4 separate regions of the Homo sapiens genome follow, and regions 1, 2 and 3 are each linked to region 4. The links are contacts of gene promoters, found by promoter capture Hi-C in blood cells and fetal thymus (Javierre and others, 2016). All regions are on one chromosome and are shown on one strand. Each heading gives the region's core, a stretch centred on a gene start or on the middle of the fragment in contact. The rest is flanking DNA. Distances are from core to core; before and after follow the strand shown. Region 1 overlaps STRAP (serine/threonine kinase receptor associated protein). Region 2 has its middle 7.9 kb from the start of EPS8. Region 3 holds the start of MGST1 (microsomal glutathione S-transferase 1). Region 4 holds the start of H2AJ (H2A.J histone).

The links. Contacts are between HindIII fragments. The CHiCAGO score rates a contact against its expected background, and 5 or more counts as called.
Region 1: a fragment that was not itself captured here is called in contact with the fragment with the promoter of H2AJ in region 4 in 6 of 17 cell types (total CD4 T cells, erythroblasts, naive CD4 T cells and 3 more); the score reaches 7.4 in total CD4 T cells.
Region 2: a contact is called between a fragment that was not itself captured here and the fragment with the promoter of H2AJ in region 4, in 1 of 17 cell types (fetal thymus). The highest score is 5.7, in fetal thymus.
Region 3: the fragment with the promoter of MGST1 here is called in contact with the fragment with the promoter of H2AJ in region 4 in 1 of 17 cell types (M0 macrophages); the score reaches 6.3 in M0 macrophages.

Annotation. Positions count from the first base shown.
Region 1 is chr12:15,901,050-15,906,060 of GRCh38, forward strand. It overlaps STRAP (serine/threonine kinase receptor associated protein), which reads left to right. Exons shown (of 10, transcript NM_007178.4): 10 at 1,868-2,429. The coding sequence ends at 1,929. Among named protein-coding and RNA genes, the nearest start is that of DERA, 7.8 kb to the right of the region's middle. The HindIII fragment of the contact is 6,674 bases long and covers 267-5,011 here.
Region 2 is chr12:15,794,750-15,799,803 of GRCh38, forward strand. No RefSeq gene overlaps it. Among named protein-coding and RNA genes, the nearest start is that of EPS8, 7.9 kb to the left of the region's middle. The HindIII fragment of the contact is 3,373 bases long and covers 1,446-4,818 here.
Region 3 is chr12:16,344,607-16,349,608 of GRCh38, forward strand. MGST1 (microsomal glutathione S-transferase 1) reads left to right here and starts at 3,039. Exons shown (of 4, transcript NM_020300.5): 1 at 3,039-3,104. RefSeq lists enhancers at 2,129-3,058, 3,989-4,918. The HindIII fragment of the contact is 2,670 bases long and covers 2,367-5,002 here.
Region 4 is chr12:14,771,509-14,776,675 of GRCh38, forward strand. H2AJ (H2A.J histone) reads left to right here and starts at 2,897. Exons shown (of 1, transcript NM_177925.5): 1 at 2,897-3,516. The coding sequence starts at 2,963. The coding sequence ends at 3,352. RefSeq lists enhancers at 2,317-3,234, 2,448-2,657, 2,848-3,177, 3,188-3,347, 3,235-4,151 and 1 more. The HindIII fragment of the contact is 5,193 bases long and covers 1,286-5,167 here.

The sequences.
Region 1 (5,011 bases), core at 2,354-4,853, 1.1 Mb after region 4:
GGGATTTAAAATTGAACTGTAACAGAAGTTTTACTCATTGGCAGAAGAAATTTATTAAATATGAACATATTTAAATAATGGAAACTTTAAATATTTATGCATGTATATATACATATTTATAAGCTAAATATTTAAATACCTACTGCATAGTAGTAATAGGCACAGAGATGTAGTATGGACACAACCGATGTGGTTACTCTTTCAGAGCTAGAGTCTAACTTAGGAGACATGCCAAAACACAAATTATTGTAAGGGGGATTAAAAAAAGCTTCCTAGAGAAGTGACATTTAAACTGGGAACTAAGGATGAGCAGAAATGATTTAGGTGAGGTCATGAGAGGGGGTGTTGGTAGGGACAGGATGGAAAAGTTCATAGCAGGAAAACTATGTTAACTAAAAGTTCAGAACCAAAAAGGAGCATAGCATATGAGGAACTAAAAGAACTTCTCCATGCCTCCAGGTTAAAGAGCAAAGGCAAAGTGAAGCTGGAGAAGCTAGATCATCTGAGGGCCTCATTTGCTGTATTAGGACTTGGAGAGTTTTATACTAAGAGCAATGAGAAACCTTTGAATTTTAAGAAGAGGACTTTAAAAGATTGCCTTGGTAGTTCAAGACCAACCTGGCCAACATGGTGAAACCCTGTCTCTACTAAAAATACAAAAATTAGCCGGTCATGGTGGCAGATACCTGTAATCCCAGCTATTTAGGAGGCTGAAGCAGGAGAGTAGCTTGAACCCAGGAGGTAGAGGTTGCAGCGAGCCGAGATTGCGCCACTGCACTCCAGCTTGGGTGTCAGAGAGAGACTCTGTCTCAAAAAAAAAAAAAAAAAAAAGGTTGCCTTGGCTGTTGCACGTACAAAGAATTGGACTGGGAACAAGAGTGAACATAAACCAGTTAGGGGGCATTGTAGTCTAGATGAGTGATCATGTAGGTTTTGTTTTGTTTTGAGATGGAGTCTTGCTCTGTTGCCCAGGCTGGAGTGCAGTGGCATGATCTCGACTCACTGCAGCCTCCGCCTCTGGTTTCAAGCAATTCTCCTGCGTAAGCCTCCTGGGTAGTTGGGATTACAGGTGCACCACCACGCCTGGCTAATTTTTGTATTTTTAGTAGAGATGGGGTTTCACCATGTTGATCAGGCTGGTCTTGAACTCCTGACCTCATGATCTGCCCACCTCGGCCTCCCAAAGTGCTGGGATTACAGGCGTGAGCCACTGCACCCGGCCTATCATGTAGTTTTTAATAAGGGTATTGCAATGAGAACAGAAAAAGGTAGATGGAGTTGAGAGTCTTTTGTTAGACTTGTTAGAATTGTGAGATTGATGAGTGGGGGTATCATGAGGAAGAAATATGCAGATTGCTGCCATGAGAAACTGGGTATGATGATTTTGGGGGAGGTTGGGAAGGTGTTTACCATTTACCCAATAGAGTTTTCCTTAAATTTTTTATTGTTAAGCACCTTCTTGCTAAAACAATGTTGATGGTTAATGTTTTGCTTTAAATAGCACTAAATATTAGGATTTGAATCACTAAAAGAGAGGGCCAGATCCTTCGAAGACATGACTTTAATTCCGGGTTTGTTATATAGCTGGAGTCTTTGAAAATTTAGGCCAGAAAGGGACCCTTGGAGGTTGAGTTATGGTGTAAGAGAATCTAGTGGATAAAACACATGAACTCTTTCTTCTTTGCCTTTTCAATGACATGAGTCTAGTTGTTAGTGGCATGTGCAGTTGCTCTCTTCTTTCCCTTACCACAGTATGCTTTACAAACACTTTTTCATTCCTTCATTACACAGAAATGTAGATTTGCTTCTTTCTTTCATTAAGTTGACTAATGTGACTTTTTTTTTTTTTTTTTTTTTTTACTTATAGAAGAAATTGCTTCAGAGAATTCAGATTGCATCTTTCCTTCAGCTCCTGATGTTAAGGCCTGAGCGTCAATCATATGTGCAGTTAGTATACAACTGACTAAAACAAGCAAGCAGAGAAAAGCATCAGCCTTCCAGAGTTACTGTCTGCTTAAGGCAGAAACAGCAGTAAATAATGAGGAAAATGAATTAGCTCCAGTGCTGGAACAACTAACTAACTTGGTGTTACCTGTAAGTGAAAACTCAAGTGTCAGATGAAGGGAGGTGGAGTTATCCTCTTATAGTACAGTGGCCTGTTATCTTTTTAATGAATATATACAAGCCAACATCCAATTTCTATTATTACAATTAGGGTTCTTGTAGCTGTTTATGTTAATATGGAGAAGAAAACTATATTGGCTGATTTTTTCTGATCTTAAAGCAGAATGCCTTTTCTTTTTTTGCTTCAGTTGTAAAGAAGAGGGAATACATGATAAAGTAACTGGTTTGATTTCTCGTTCATTGTACACTGCCTCTGAACATCTAATTGTTTTTAGTTGTCTAAATAAAATGCCTCTAAAACAAAACAATGTTTGGTTTTTTTGGGGAAAAACTACTAATGTGAGTTTTATAAGTGGAAATAGCCAGAAGGTTTTTCTGTATCATAACCATAGCAAAAGGTAAGCCAATTAATCTGTAGTAAACATTATTTTATAATATTGAGATTCAGTTACTTGTCCTGAATTTTTGAAATTCTTATGTCCTTTACTAGTGTTTCATTTACCTTCTCTATTCCCAGATTGGATAGAAGTGCTTGACATGCCTTTTTAAACAATTATTTAAATAATACATGCTAGTTATAAGAAAAAAAAAATCAACTGAAATTTAGCAGTAAGCTGAAAGATCACTTAAAATCCTACCACTCCTCAAAAAACTATTAAAATCAAATGACCATGAATGCATGTTAGGGCATCTCTGTATGTATATACAGATAGATAGAATGGATTTTATAAAAATGGGATTACTATAGTCCTGCAGTGGTTTAAGAAGTATGGAATTTTACCTCATTCTTTAAATTTGGGTGGCATTCAGAAAGCCCTTCTAAAACCTTCTAATAAATTGGATCAGCTGAGTTTAGACTTGTAATTTATTTTTTAAAACAAAGAGGGCATATTAAATGAGTAATTTGGAAATACTTCAGATGAATAAATAACATCTCTGCAACTTCCTTTTTCTCCTGATCAGTCCTGTGAGTGACCCTTGATAACTTTTCTTAAAAGCAATATGAGTCAACCAAAGAATAAGATTAATTTTTGAGGATTTGTGATAACCAGAAGAAAGCACTGTAGGCTGTGACAACCTGTGAGGGCCGAGAGAAATACAGGGGAGCCAACTGGTGATCCATATTGGCTTTCATAGAGTGGTAGTATTTTTGTGTCAGCTTGTTACATGCCTGAACCTCTGGATTGCAGCAGTGTTGTCATTGTACCAGCAGTTGCTCAGACTCTAATCAGAGTCTGATTTACCCTCAATAAAGTTCTGTACGCATCAGATTGGAATCATGAAGTTGCTTGTTATTTATGAACCAAGGGAATTTCTCCTTAGGTTTCATAAAAGTCTAATGACCCTGTACAGGTACAGTCCTTTGTGTATTGGTTTCCTGCTGCTGCTGTAACAAGTGACCACAAATGTGTACCTTAAGACAACACAAATTTATTATCTTACGGTTAGGGAGGTCAGAAGTCCACAGTAGGTCTTGCTGGGCTTAAATTAAGGTGTCAGCAGAGCTGCAAGCCTTCTAGAGGCTCTACAGGACAATCTGTTCCCTTGCCTTTTCTAGCTTCTAGAAGCCAGCTGCATTCCCTGGCTCATGGTTCCTTCCTCTTTCTTTACGTCCAGCAGTGTCCGTTTTTTAATCTCTTATTCTGAATGTGACTCTATCTCCTGCTGCCTTCTTTTATTTATAAGGAGGTTTGTAATTATATCGGGCTCACCTGAATAATCCAGGATAATCTTTCCAATTCAAGATCTTCAATTTAATCACATCTGCAAAAGTCCCTTTTGCCATATAGGATGACATATTCACAGGTTCTGGGGATTGGGAAGTAGACATCTTTGTGGGGGCCATTAGTTATTAGTCTGCTTACCACACTTGGTAATGGTAGAATCCTACAGTAGAATTTAACAAAACTTTCAAGAGTAGTGGTCACTTTTCTGTTCTCATCTTAACTAAACCTTCAGCAGCATTCAATAATCATCCACTTCCTGGTTTTTGATTTTTTTTTTTAGCTTCTATGAAACTACACTCCTGGGTCTTTTTTTTTTTTTTTTTGAGATGGAGTCTCGCTCTGTCACCCAGGCTGGAGTGCAATGGTGCGATCTCAGCTTACTGCAACCTCTGCCTCCCAGGTTCAAGCGATTCTCCTGCCTCAGCCTCCTGAGTAGCTGGGACTACAGGCATACACCACCACGCCCAGCTAATTTTTGTATTTTTAGTAGAGACGGGGTTTTGCCATGTTGGCCAGGATGGTCTTGATCTCCTGACCTCGTGATCCACCCGCCTCGGCTTCCCGAAGTGCTGGGATTACAGATGTGAGCCACCGTGCCCGGCAGGGTCTTTTTATACCTTACTGACTCTTGTATTTGCCAGTTCCTCCTTTTTTTTCTTGACTTCAGATCTGGGCTGCACTTTCTAGCTCTGTTGTCTAAAGAAAAATATCTGCTGTTACTCAAGATCTTCTGATAGGTTCTACATCGTTGTTTATATGTTGTCTACCTGGTCTGCCTCTTTGAGCACCAGAGTTTGACAGCATAGTTGAGTGCTCCATCTTAACCTTTCATAAGACTCAGACTTACCTATCGTAAGTCTTGATTTTTTAAATCAAACCTGTTTCCCTCAACCTTTCCCCATTCCACTAACTGGTACTAACTTATACTTACTTGTTCAAACTAAAAGACATGTAAATCCTTGACTGTGTTCTCTCTCATGCCCATGTCTATATGCAAGTCCTGTGGGCTCTTCGAAGCTGTGCTTTGCCTCCTCTCCATTGTTACCACCCTAGGCAGGCTACCTTTATTTCTCAGTTCCTTCATAACTGCTCCCTCTTGCCCCTACTCATTCGTCTGGCTCTTATCCCATCCATACTCCATACAGTAGGAAAGGTAATTG
Region 2 (5,054 bases), core at 1,882-4,381, 1.0 Mb after region 4:
TATAACTGCTAAAATATAAAACCCCATAAATGAGTTAAAGAGTAGATTAAACATAGTTGAAAAGAATAATGTAAGCTACATATGAAGAAATTATGCAGAATGCACCACAGAAGGTGAAAAAAGACAGAAAATAATAAACATTAAGAGATATGGAATATAGAGAATGTTAAGATATTACTCATCTCTAATTAGAATCCCAGAATGAGAGACCACAAAGAATGGAGTAAAGACAAGAGAAGACACAATAGCTAACACTGTTCCCAGATTAACATAGGACATGAATCTACAAAAAGAGGAAGTCCTGGCTATATACATGTATCAAGTAGGATACCTGAAAAGAAAATGAAATAGAGGCAGTACATATACATGTATCACATAAGATGCATGAAAAAAAGCAAACCAATATAAACTACAGTGAAATTTCAAAACACCAGGGGAAAGGCAATCTTAAAAGCATCGAAGGGGGGAATATTATTTACAAAAGAAAAACAAGTAGACTGAATAATTTTCAACAGCAATATGGCAGCCAGAAGAGAGTGGAATATCTTCAAAATGTTGAATGAAAATAGCTGTCAACCTATAATTTAGTGTCCAGAAACATTATATTTTGAGAACAAAAATGTAATTAAGACATTTTTAGATTAAAAACTATTCTTTTCACTGCCTTCACTAGATGAACTTCTGAAGTACACTTTCAGATGAAGGAAAGTGACCCAGTAGGAAATACTGGAATACAAGAAAAAATGGTGAACAAAGAAGCTGATTAACATTTGGGTTAATATAAAGAGGCCTGGTCTGTACAAAATAATATTAATAAATAATATGAAATTGTGAGGCTTAAAAGACACAGTTTAAATGCTAGAGAATAACTTACAAATCAGAAGGAGGATAATTAGAGTTAAATCATTCTAAGGTTTTTGTATTGTTCTGAGGAGTTTAATATATTAATTTTAAGTGTCCTTAAGAAAAATATTCACAATAAGATTTTAACAGAAATGATCCATATGGTACTTCACAACCTCAATTTTACAGGTAAACACACACACACACAAAGATAATAAATCATAGAGTTAGTATGTGATGAAGCTAGGATTTGAATTCAAGCAGAGAACGTGGTTTTGACCATTATGCTCTACAATATCTTAAAGACTCTAAAAGAACGGAAATGTGATGTAGAAATTCCAAACCAGTAGAGGAAGGGAGAAAGAATAAGAGGTAAACAAATATTAACAATCAATCTTCCTCTGTAAGCCACAAAAAAGCAAGAAAAAAGAAATGTAGAAGGAAAGGAGACACATAGATAGAAGGTAAAGACTGAGGAGAAAAACATTCAAGCATGTAAATAATCACAATATAAATGGACTAAACTTTCTAGTTAAAAGACAGAGTCAAGGCAGTTTTTAAAGATATAGCTATATGTTATTTACAAACATAAGAACGTGGAAAGCTTAAGATATATCAATTATATAATAATTAAAGCTGGTATAGCTATGTTGACATCACACGCAATGAGCTTCAAGATAAAAAAGCATTATTGTGGCTAGAAAAGGTCATCACATAATGATAAAATCTACAAGAGGAAATTGAAAAACTCATTATCATAGTGTAGCTATTTCAACACCCATTCAACCACTGTTAAGTTATTGATATCTCTCTATATCTATCTCTATCTCTCAATATATATATAGATTACTTATATAGAGACCTATATCTATCGATATATGTATATATCATATATATAATACATATGTGGCATATAGCAATTAGAGAATACACATACTCAACAAACCCATAAGAAATATTTGTAAAAATTAACCAGCATACCTTAATACATTTCTGAGAATTTGCATCATCTAGAAAAGGGGTTAAAAATCTTTTTATGTAAAGGACCTGATAACAAAAGCTAAGGTTTTGGAGGTCAGTGGTCTCTATTGCAACTACACAACTCTGCCACTGTGTAACTCAATAGCAGCCATAGACAATACATAAGCAAATGACCTTAACTATGTTCCAATTAATGTAAGACCCACTAAATTTGAATTTTATGTAATCTTTACAGACCTCAAAATATTATCCTTCTTTTGTGTTGTTTGACCATTTAAAATGTACCAACCATTCTTAGTTTGCCAGCTGTAGAAAAACAGGTGACAGGCCAAGTGTGGCCCATAGGGTGGTGATTCACTGACCTCTGATCTTGACTCATCTGTTTGTAAGGCAGTACAGTTAGAAATCAATAGCCGACTAATTTTTAAAACATTTAAGTTTAAAATGAAATTTTAATTAATTGTACTTTTTAATTTCTAAAGATTAATTTAAATGGGATTTAAAAACAGACTCCCCGCCCGGCATGCTGGCTCATGCCTGTAATCCCAGAACTTTGGGAGGCCACGGCGGGCAGATCACGAGGTCAAGAGTTCAAGACCAGCCTGACCAACATGGTGAAACCCCGTCTCTACTAAAAATACAAAAAAAATTACCCGGGTGTGGTGGCACATGCCTGTAATCCCAGCTACTCGGGGGCTGAGGCAGGAGAATCACTTGAACCCAGGAGGAGGAGGTTGCAATGAGCTGAAATCCCACCACTGCACTCCAGCCTGGGTGATAGAGCGAGACTCCATCTAAAAAAAAAAAAAAAAAAAAAAAAAAAAAACAGACTTCCCAATAATGTATGAATAGAAGAAGAAATCATAATAATAAAATTTATAAATATGTAAAACTGCAAGAAAGAGAAATAAATTCTAGTATATTCTGTTAACAAAATATTCTATAGCGGTGAACATGAGGAAGCAACCACTATGTTCCGCAGTATAGATTACTCTTAGAAACTTAGAGTTGAGTGAAAAAAGTCATAGAAGATTATGCATGATAAGATATCCTTTTTAGAGAGCTCAGAAAAGCATAACTAAATGATTTATTATTTAGGAGCAGCAGACATTTGTTAAAAATTTGTTTGTAAACAAAGGAATGTTTATCACAAAATTCAGAATAGTAGTTACCTCTGAAAGGCAGGAAAGGAATGAAATGAGGAAGCTAACACAGATAAGTTGCAATAGTATTGTAAGGTGAATCATCGGTGCTCATCTTAATTACTATTCTTGTCCCTCCTGGGAGAAAAATTGTGGAATTGCATACGGTAGGGAGGACCTTAATGCAGGGAGACAGCCATGGCTAGGGAAAGGCTAAAAGAGATGAGACAGAATGACGGAAGAAGGACAATGGAATTGTTGCTCTAATTTGTGGTGAAAGTGCTCCAGTCATATTCTCTTATTTACCTGGACTCAGGTCATCAGAATGTCTCATTCCCTATTATCTCTGACCTTTGAATGACTGATGAGCTCTGTAGATTTAAAACAAAAAAAAAAACTCCTTTCTGAACAAGAGCACAGGTATTCTGTTTCCAATTTTAAATGTGAAAGTTTGTTTTTATGGTTTTTATGAAAAGGTTGATTTCCTCCAGCAATTTTAATGTTCTGTATAACTAACAGAAATTTAATTTTTGAATTTGAGAGTTATTGATCCATTTACTAGTAACAGCTGAATGTTCCTTAAAATGCAAAAGAGACATTTGTTTTATCTTTTTGAGAGAATGGTGCTGTTTGTTCTGCAGAACTGGAAATTTGCCATTTATGAGCAGCACTTATCTCACTATTTACAGCTTTTTCTAATCAGATCTAGGCTTTTTATTTTCCTACTTGTGCCTAAGCAAAAAAAAAAAAAAAAAGAAAGAAAAAGAAAAGCAGATGAGAATGAAAAGGGAAGAAAATAAAATAACTGTGGGGGGGGGGAATCTTCAAAAAACTATCTGTTTAAAATTATAGTAGAGCTTTAAAGTGGAATTCTACTATACAATTGAAAAGAATGAGGTGGTGACATTAACTACTAGCTAGGATAGACAGCAAGATATATATTTATTAAGGTGGGGGGAGACAGCATGTTGCAATACATTATGTAGTATGAATTAACTTATATAAAAAAGAATAACAAATAAATATAAGCCAACATTCTACCAGTATTTTATGGGAGAGGGGTGACAGTGTAATAGGAGTCACTTTCACTATTTCAGTTAATTTATTTCTATAATTGAATTTTAAGCCATTTTTAATACTACAAAAAAGTATTATTTTGTGGCAGAGAAAATTTAACTTAGTAATATTTTATTATTCATTGTGGATTTTTCATGTTTCTCAATTCTTTACTCCTGCTAGAACTCGGGCAGATTTTTAAAACTCCCATCCCTAATGTCCAAAGTTGCATTTTTGTATCTTTAGGATTGCTGAGCTAGAATAATCCTTAGGCTATTTAACAATTCCCCCTGGGTAAGCTCATTGGCATTGCAAACACAGACACTGTTTCCTTTAGTTGGCACCCAAACTTTCTTCTTCCTTAACAGCAGAATCCTCAGCAGGGAAAATAAAACGAAAGAAAACTCCTATTACGAATTTGGAAAGTTTTAAAATGCAAATGCACATTTATCAATACCTATCTCACCGAGATCACTTGTGCTCAAGGTAATTCCAACAACCTTAAAGATCATTTTCCTGATCACAGCACAGAAATCCCAGTTTCGTTTTTGCTTTGGTTTTTTTAATCAAAAATTCATTGGTTGCTAAGAAATCCCAGTTTGGGCAAGGCAAGAGCAAATATATCCCACAGATTTTAAATGTAACTTCATCTTAAAGGACTCAGAAACACATCCACAACCCCCAACACACACACAGAGAAAGAAAGAGAGAATCTCTAAAGTGTGCTATAAACACTTGTTGGCTTTCCAAAAACATTAAGTTTCGTACCACTTTAATGAACACTTTTTAAATGCAAAGCTTTCAAAGTATTTTCTTCACTTTATTGTATGAAGGATGCATTTCTTTCCTTCCTCTCTTCTTTCCTTCCTTCATCCTTCCTTCCTTTCTTCCTTCCTTCCCTCCTTCCCTTTCTTTCTTTTCTTTCTTTCTTTCTTTCTCTCTCTCTCTCTCTTTCTTTCTTTCTTTCTTTCTTTCTTTCTTTCTTTCTTTCTTTCCTTCTTTCTCTCTTTCTCTCTCTCTCTTTCTTTCTTT
Region 3 (5,002 bases), core at 1,789-4,288, 1.6 Mb after region 4:
GATTCTATTCTATTCTTTTGACCTATTTGTCTATCCTTATACCCTTACTATACTCTCTTGATTAGCTTCAAGAATTTTTATCATTTTTTAGTTCTGTTCCTTTCATCGTGGCTACTTTTGCCTCTTGACAATATTAGCTTAAGAGTTTATTTCAGAAGTTAGCACAGCTTTCAGGCTGCTGTGTATCTCAGAGTGTCTGTCTAAAAAATAGGAAAAATAAGAACTCCCTTATAGGGTTATTGGGAGAAATAAACAATCTAGTATACATGTTTAAAATGTATTATAACTCTAAAATAATCCTTAAGTGTTCAGAATATTGCTTATTTTTGTTTCACTTTTTGCTCTCTTGACCTTAAAACATATTCTTATGCAAGTTTACTGAAATCCCCCAGTAAGTTTCAGATTGTGGCAGGGCACCTGTTCTGTGGATTTAGGGAAAAACAAAGGCCCCAATATAATTGAGGGGAGTGACAGGCACCTGTTTTCTTCCTATTTACAGCAAGCCTTAACAGAAGGTGATGGCAATTCTTTCTGCCATTTTTACTTTGTCTGTTTTAAAAACAGACAAAGGTATTACTGGACTTCCAATGCTTTGCTCTTCCAGATATTTCTAATTTGATCCCCTGAACAGTCTGCTTTTTTTTTCTTTATTGTGGTAATTCCTTTTTCAGATGAATGACCTTTGCTCTCCTCACCCCAAATCAATGACCTTTTAAACTGTTTTAATATTTACTAGGGAATTACTTGTTCTGAGGCTTGGATTGAGTTTCTCTAAAAGATGGTATTCTAGAATTTAAATGGTGGTGAGAGGAAGGGTTGAAAAGCTGAATCCATTCTTTTACCCAGACGAAACTAAGCTGAATAACAACTCTCTCTCTTTCTCAATCATTTAAGAGCTTATAACAAAGATGAATATAAAGTGTCAATTATTTTACAACTTTTACCTGTTACCGCCCTAGTTCACACCCCAACTGTCATTCTTATTTCTAAATGGAAACTTTCCTTCCACAAGCTTAATGGCAACTTTTTACCTTTTTGGCCTTTGTGTTTACTAGATTGTAAAATCCTGGAGGACAGCTCTTTGACGTTATTTATCTTAGTTTTAGATTTTAGCATCAAACCAAGTACATTGCATTCATTTAATAAATGTTTATTCAATTAAACCAACTGCTAATATTCTACCCAATACAGTGTCATATATATATCCGTATGTATATATATAATATTGCCTGATACACACAAACACACACACACATATATATATGTATGTAACAGGCAATAATTGTTCGTGATTTAGTGATAGTAGGAACTCAGTATTTATTCATTGATCAATTAATAGTTTGAACACATTCTATATTTAGAGCATTAGATGAGTCAAGTGCTACTTTCTTTTTTAAAAAAATGTTAGAACCAGCTGGACGCAGTGGCTCACGCCTGTAATCCCAACACTTTGGGAGGCTGAGGCAGGTGGATCACGAGGTCAGGAGATCAAGACCATCCTGGCTAACACAGAGAAACCCCGTCTCTACTAAAAATACAAAAAATTAGCCAGGCGTGATGGCAGGTGCCTGTGATCCCAGCTACTTGGGATGCTGAGGCAGGATAACGGTGTGAACTCGGGAGGCGGAGCTTGCAGTGAGCTGAGATCGCGCCACTGCACTCCAGCCTGGGCTACACAGGCAGACTCCGTCTCAAAAAAAAAAAAAAAAAAATGTTAGAACCATTCAACTAGCATTCTGTAGACCAAATTATCTAAACAGTAGCTCTCCTCTTCCTTTTTCTGCCATGTTATCCATAAGATTTGGCCTGTATCACCTTATAATAAATGAAGAGAGTCTTAAATTCTTATAATACCAAACTCCTTTGGAGAGAATTCAGAATAGATTTATGTCATCTCAAATTCTATCCTATTCCAGTTAATGTTACAGACAGATTCTAGTATACTTTACAAAGATAGGTGAATAAGTAGAGTTTTGAAAAGATACAGACATAAAAGTGAAGAACAGATGCCTTCTGATGCTAGATTTTCCAAAACTCCTACTGTTATGCTTATATAGAAATCATTCTCAGACCTTCCTTGGATTAATTTCTGTTCCTAGAGCAAACTGGTAGTTATTTCTTTCTTTAATAGAACATGAACTTGTCCATCACATCCTAGAAAGTTAGTCCTAGGGATATCCTTTAAAGCCTAAAGGAGTAAATTAAGAGCAAAAAAAGGAAGTAGACCTTGCAACAGGTGGTGAGTGTCTGAGATATAGCACTAGGAGAGAAATAATATAGATTGAAAACAGAAATCCTTAAACATTTCTCATATAAACCCATGAAAGATAGATCCATAAATATTGTGGGGACTATGGGGACTAGGAAGCTTGGAAGTATCCCTAATCTAGATAGTGATGGTAGGCTAAATATCTACGGCTTCCGTAAACGTTCCTCTAAACCTCCCTGTAAAAAACACACTAAGCTGATTGTGTAATGAGCTGATCCAGTACAATTGCCTCCAATTTCATTCTGGACCCTGAACAGGAGGGGACATCGTGACAAAGCAAATTGTCTGGTATCATGAATTTGGAACACCGTAAGTGATCTTTACTGAGGGTTACATTCTGTCATTGTCAGCCTTTTAAGGAGGCCTTGCCACCAGCGCAGGGGAGGTGAAGTCTAAGGGAAGGTAATATTGTCAATGCCTGCTAATTAGTTCTACCCTGGAGATTTTAACTTTCTGCGAAGTTTTTAAAAACAACTTCCAAAACTCTGCTGATCCTGAAATGTTCGAGAATTCAGAGTTCCTAGACAATGGCTACTGTCCCCCTTCCCACTGATTAGGGGAGTTGGCATTTCAGGAACCAGAGTTTCTAAGGGCGCCAAATAGAAGGGCTCAAAGGGAATCAGCAGGCGATGGTTACTGTGGGCGGGTAAATCAGGTGATTTAGAGGAGGGGTTTGGCGAGGTTGGGGTCGGGCTTTAAACGTGGGAGGGCTAATTAACAGGAGATTAACTGGAGAGGGGCGGTGCCTGCGTCCGGCCCGCGCGGCCACAGTCCCTGCATTGCGCGCGACCCGGCGGCGGGACAGGCTTGCTGCTTCCTCCTCCTCGGCCTCACCGTGCGTACTGGGAGGGGAGAAGGGGACCGCATGCAAAGGGTGGCAGGCAGGGAGGGCCAGGGTGGGTGGCAGATGGAAGACTTGGGGGGGTCTCTGCCAGCTGGAAGTGCTTGGCTCCACTTAGCAGCTAAACTTAGCTTTTCAATCGATCGCTTTTGAAAGGGAATTGTATTTCTGTCCCCGTGCGGGTAAGTTTTCCCATTTCTCAAACTCCAGGAATGAAACGAGAGAGTCTTTTCATGCTTGAGTGATGATTTCCAAACTTAGCCTTTTCAAGTCAAAGTAACCTCCTGTTTGAAAGGGTCCCTTGAACTCTGGGGAAGGAGGAAAAGGCACGTGTAGTAATGGAGGAAATGCCTGTAGTTTGAACGACTGCTGTTCTCCCCAAGAGTGCAAAAGCCTGCGATGTCTCAGGTTTCATGGGCATAGTGGCCTTTATGCCTATTGTAAGGCAGGATTTGCTCTTCTGAGTTCACTTTGATAGGAGAAACATCAGCAAGTTTTAAAATAATACTAAATAATACTACTGCTAATAATGCTAGCTATCGAAACAAGAGGATGTGGGTTAGATGATAATATTTTTGTGTGATATTATAGCCAGTGACAAGAGAGCTAAGGGTGAGCCCCTTGGGACGGTTCTCACCTGTGCCCCACTTCCCCAGTCTGGAGGAGGAAGCCATGTGGAAGGAGAAAAGGAGAAGGGAACTCTCTTTTTCGGGAATTAAGGTGTCATATATTGCTCTAGCTGGCTTGGGACAGAGGAGAGAGGAGTGCATGTAAATCTTCTAGTCTCTCTGCTTCTCTTGAAATGTGGCAGTCTGAGCTCCACGTTTATATTCCCCTATTTCTTCTCCCTAATTTCTTACCCAGTGAGTGCTGAGTGGGTGCCCGCAAGCATTGCTGTATAGCACCCAGGCCTCCAGTGAGCAATCCTTAAAGCCCAGTTTTCCTGGGGTCCCAGCCTGCTGTGAGTCCCAGCCTACACCTACCTTTTGCATATGCTTTTCTTGGCCTTAGGATAGTACTGGACTTTGTTGTCCTCTGCTGTTTCCAAAATAAGAGGGCTATGTGTGCGATTATCTTTGGTAATTAAAAAAAAAAAAAAAAAAAAGGCAAATCAGTCCAAATTTGGATATTACCCTCTCTGGCAGACGAGTAAAATTTTTCTACCGCTTTGTTTTAGAGTGGTGTCTATGAATCCCTGAGATTGGAAAAGGAGGTCAGGTCAGCACAGAGAAAGGCCTTACCCCACCACTCTCCCGAGAGGCACCAGCATTTCACCTGCAGCCTCTGGGCTCTGAACCCCACTTTGCATGAGACCACATAGTGGGCTGAGTCTGCAGCCACCACGATGCCTTCAGGAAATGCTAGAATTCATCTAGAGTTCCAGATTAACGTATCCGCAACATGGCCACCGAATTATCTTTTTTCTTTATCTCATGTGTAGTGTTTGTTAGTTTTAGAAGGTACAAAATTGCAGAGTCATGGCCCTGGGGATGCGTGCCCAGATTATTCATGTGTTTCACAATATTGATGCAGAAAGGCTGGCCACCTCATCCTGAGAAGAGAACTTTGCTCATTTTGGCCAAAAGCCTGTAAAGGGAAAGGGCGTTCCTCAACTGAGAAGTGAAGATTCTTCTCTGCTAGATAGTACGGGGGTTTGGGGGGAGGGGTAGAAAACAGGAATGAGATTTGACAAGGAAAGGCCTCCAGAAGACCAGAGCTGTTGAGAATTCTTAGCCTTGATGGTGGGTAGCCCAGAGGTAAACACTTGAGAAAACTAAGTTGCAGTCTTGGTCTCTCCACTGTGAATTTGGGTCATATTACTCACTACTTTTCTGGGCCTTAATTTCCTTACATACTAAAGGTAGAAAAAAATATTATTTGCTCTACCTCAG
Region 4 (5,167 bases), core at 1,647-4,146:
AAGCTTTACATCCGAGATTTCAAAGCAATTACTTAAAATTTAAAATTTTTCACACGTGGGTCTTCTGAAGACATAGTAGGGGGAGAGGACTTTTTTCTCTTTTACGGCCCTGCAGATAATTAAAATTCTTTCAATTGAAAAAAGAAAGTGCAGCTTCCCGTCCCCCACCTACACTCCACCCCCACCTCCCCCCGACCCCCGCCATTCCCCTTTCAGCTGCTTCTGCGCAATTTGCAGGTTTTCCTGCCCTGCAAGAGCCTGTGTGCTTTTCAACCAAGTAACTTCCTGTGGTTATTTAGTTGAAATATTGTCAATGTCTTATGTCATTCAAATCTCAGGTTCTCATCTCACATTTTCCACTTAAAAATTCAAAGTTCTTGTAAAACAATGGATGCCACAATCATGACTTGGAATAATGATTTCTACTGCAAATCCCCTCAGGAGGTTCTGAATCCCTTCCTTTCTCAAGAGAATCCCTGAACAAAAACGAAAGTTTCTGTAAGGTGTCACCGCTCTTCAAAGGTGTCAGGACCCTGTCTTCTCTAAAGGTTTTACTGTGTTAAAAAGCAGCTGTTATTTAGAGGATGAGTCATAAGTCTTTCCCAGGTAGTTAATTAGGATTCTGAGCAATGAATTTTAGTAAGTGGGGCTTCTTTGTCCCTGGTCTTGAAGATAAGCCTTTACAGCAGGAAGACTTTATGGTAAAATTTTGTTATATTTATAAATGCCTATAGTTTACATTTGTTTCAATCCATGCCCATCTTCATAACCCAAAAGGTATTTATTTTTCTTTTACTTTTTGTTAAAGATAAAAGAGTTGGAACACTGTCTTGAATGGCTGGAAAAAGTCCTGAATGGTCGAACTTCACTCATGATTTTAATATTTGACTCAGAGGGAAGAGGAAAAGTCTATCAGATCTTGAAGAGATAAGAATTATTGTAATGGGGCCGGGCGCGGTGGCTCACGCCTGTAATCCCAGCGCTCTGGGAGGCCGAGGAGGGCGGATTACGAGGTCAGGAGATCGAGACCATCCTGACTAACATGGTGAAACCCCATCTCTACTAAAAATACATAAAAATTAGCCGGGCGTGGTGGCGGGCGCCTGTAGTCCCAGCTACTCGGGAGGCTGAGGCAGGAGAATGGCGTGAACCCGGGAGACGGAGCTTGCAGTGAGCCGAGATCGCGCCACTGCACTCCAGCCTGGGCGACAGAGCGAGACTCCGTCTCAAAAAAAAAAAAAAAAAATTATTGTAATGGTAAAATCGGTTGACTTACTTATAGTTAAGCTTTCTAAGAAATCAAGACTAGAACATTTTCAAATTAGAAATCTCTTGCTTATTGGAATAAAAGAAAAAAAATCGTGTCTAAAATAGTAATACTTTTAAAAACTCTTGAAAATTCCCCAAGATACAGGCAAAAATTTAAGCTAGTTTACAGAACTCATTCCAGGAACATCTCGTTAAAAACTGCATCAGAGATTTGTATGCCCATTTATTTGGTATATCTAAGAGTTATTGGATGCTTACTAACGTATTTAATTTTCAAAACACTTTGATACAGGTAGAGGAGTCAAATAACTTATCAAAGGTCACTGCTCAGTGGTAAAGCCAGGATTTAGGCTGAGGCAGACTGGCTCCGGAAAGACCGCCTAAACCATGACAATAGCTCTGAAGACATTTATTGAGTCCCCAGTATGGGTTCATCATTGTTCTAGGCAGTAATGACATATACATAAATATTTGAAAATGTTATTTCAATGAAGTCAAATCTTTATTCGGATAGTGAGAAGGTAAATTTGCTTTACTTTAAATGTAAATGAATCCACATAAAATGTTTATTTTAAAAAGCAAGCGTTCAACATTACATCACGTATCGGTGTTAACTGTGTTACTGAAAATGTTCAGGTAAAAATGAAATGACCTCGATGAATTAGGAGAAAGTAATTTTTAATTAAAACAAAACACTTGAAACACTCTTTTTGTTTCAAAAAGCATGGGTCCACAATTCAGGTATATAAGAATAAGCTGCCATTCTGACTTTAGTCTCTGGACTCATTTACAAAGAGACCCGGGGGACCTCCACGTCTTCGCAGAGGACCCGATCCGCTGATCTGTGGCGCCCTGGCTTGCGGGGAGCAAGCCAAGGCCAAGACTTTGGCCTCTCCAATAAAACCTAGTGGCTCTTTGCAGGCCCATAGCCTCAAAGACAAAAGATATTTTGGCTAGGCGAGCTTGTTCCTCCCGTCAGCACAGGAAGCATTCACGTCTGGTCATCACTCTAGCTTCAGACTCAAAAGTGAACGATTGGCTGGCTGTGAGCCGCAGGACCCTGCGGGGAGACCAGGGTGGTCTCTACACTGTTGGGTAGCTAGCTGGAGGCAAGGCGCTTGTATAAGAAACAGTCCACGGACCCTGTCCTGGGCAGGCAGAATTCCGCGGACAGGCTGTTGTTTCGCCTAAGCAGCACGGGCTGCGGAGACAGAAACCTACCTGAGTAGTACGGTGTATTATATGAGAACATCCACTTAGCATAGCAACGTCTACGGACAACCCCTGTAGCTCTTCTTCTGGATTGTTTTCTGTTTCCAACCATGTTTTCTTATTTCCTACGAGTTTATGTGCTTGGAAGCGAGCGTGGTCGTGGAAAACCCGTAACCGCTAAATTCATCTGGGTCCCCAAAGACTGAGCCGGCTGGCCTCGTTATTTATGTGAGCGGCTATGTAAATGAGGATTCGGAGATTGCTCTATTGATTGGAGAGAGCTGGAGGAGGCGGTCTCTCTTCCAGAGCGCTAGTTGGGAGCGGAGCCTGCCTGTCATTGGTCACCAGAGCCAATGGAAAGGGGCTGCCGCGCGGCCGTAAAGAGTTTGTAGAGGCAGTTCGGGTGCGGTACGTTGCATTCCGGTACCGGACGCCGAGAGCGGTTTGTCTCCGTCTCTGGAGTTGTAGGCGAGAGGTGATCATGTCCGGTCGCGGGAAACAGGGCGGCAAAGTGCGAGCAAAGGCCAAATCCCGCTCCTCCCGCGCGGGCCTGCAGTTCCCGGTGGGCCGAGTGCACAGACTGCTGCGCAAAGGGAACTACGCGGAGCGAGTGGGCGCCGGGGCGCCGGTGTACCTGGCGGCGGTGTTGGAGTACCTTACGGCGGAGATCCTGGAGCTGGCTGGCAACGCCGCGCGTGACAACAAGAAGACCAGGATAATTCCCCGCCACCTGCAGCTCGCCATCCGCAACGACGAGGAGTTAAACAAGCTGCTGGGCAAAGTGACCATCGCTCAGGGCGGCGTCCTGCCCAACATCCAGGCCGTGCTGCTGCCCAAGAAGACGGAGAGTCAGAAGACGAAGAGCAAATGACCCTGACGCCGCCCTCAGGGAGCTGGCTCCCCCAGCAAAGGCCCTTTTCATGGTCGTCCCGCAATGCTTTTGAATGTGCTGGATGTCATGGAGGGCCGGTGACATCTAGCGGGGAGGTGGGCGGCGAGGGTCCCGGCGGGAGCCAATAAAGTTGGTGAAAATCGTTTGGTCGAGAGAGCTGTGTAGTCGCGGGGACATGTCGGATGGCCCCAGGGGAGGGGGGCGACCGGGAAACCCCTGGAGCAGGCACTGGTGGGTGGGCTTGAGCCACTCTGGACGGCTTTAGTCCGCAGGTCACCCTCGAGGCGTCAGGGGAGGGTGGCCTGGAGGTGGGCAGGGTGGAAGCCACCTCGCTGTCAGTAGGGCAAAGGGGAGGCAGAGTCGGTGCGGTGAGGCCTCCTTCGGAATTATTTTTACTTCCCTTTCACAGAGCCTTCGCTCTCCTGCCAGTTTGTGAGCACTCAGGACCAAGTTCTGGGAAGATACCGTCGGATCGAGCTGAGCTCGGGGCAGGAAGTGTCTGCGGCCATATTTTTCAAAAAGTGGAGTAACTTTCCGTCTTGGAAGGGTGGCTCTGATGGCACGATGTCAACTTGAGATTCTTCCTAGCCTAGTAGCTGCTGTGCTTTCATGCTTTGGATATCAGATATCTTTATATAGCACTTTTATGTTCATATTTTTTTTTTAATGAAGGAAACGTTCAATAAGTGAGTCATGAGGTTGGAAATTCGTTCCCCTGACAGTCATATTGCATAACATTGCAGCGCCTTTAGTCGTGGGTTACATATGCTTGAGCTTTTAAAGTGATGTTGTCAAGTTTCTAGCTTCATAATGATCCTGTCTTCATCATATCATATTCACTTTGAGAATCGGTTTGACTTTGCTTTCAAACAAAACAAAAACCTCTTGCTTTTAGGGGTTCTTACCCAACAAATAACCTGTTTGAACTCTCTTATATTCTCCCACTAGCCTGAAGCAATGACCTCATTCCAGTAATGTCTTTGGGAGTTGCATTGCCTAATGGCACAATATTGCTTTAATAAACATGTAAGGAAAGATAGGACCAAATATGTAAGTGCAGGGGGAAACACATTTCAGACCAGGAATCCACATTGAAAAGTTAACACTAGTAATCATCTTCTGCCCTTAATTGACACTCCTATTTATTTCATCCTCAGCAAATTTCATCCTGGCTCACAGACCCCACAAAAAAGATCCCAGTACAGATTTCACATCTTTGGATTCATCTTTCCTGTGAGTCGGAATTGAAGTCTTCCCCAAAAATATATGTATATATTGTATGTCTTCATCCTTGGTAGCGGCTGGCCCATTTTCCCACATGGACTTTATTTTGTCCCCAGTATTTATTGAACAGCTGTCTATGCCAGGCTCTGTACAAAGTGATAGGAGTAGAGCTGTGAATGAGGCCAACCAGATTTCCACTCTCTCGGAGCTCACTTTATTTTTATTGGTTCCTGAAGACGGGACAAGGAACAAATACATACGTTAATATGAGAGATCAGCTTCTGTTAGTACTTGTACCTCTCTGCTGTGTGTGGATGAATGATGGAATTACTTCTCCCATGTTGCCATTTTTGAGGTGTACAAAGGTCAGGCCGTACACACCTCTGTTAGGAGGCAAATTATTGGGCAGGTTCGAGATGTTCTGCTATTTACTCTGTGGTTTTGTCATATGTAAAAGTCATAACACCTGTTTTAAGGATTGAGATTGTTCATTTACTGTGTGCCACATATTAGACAATAAATGGAAAAAAGTACCATGTTCAATGGGGGTATGGGTTTATCCTTATAGGT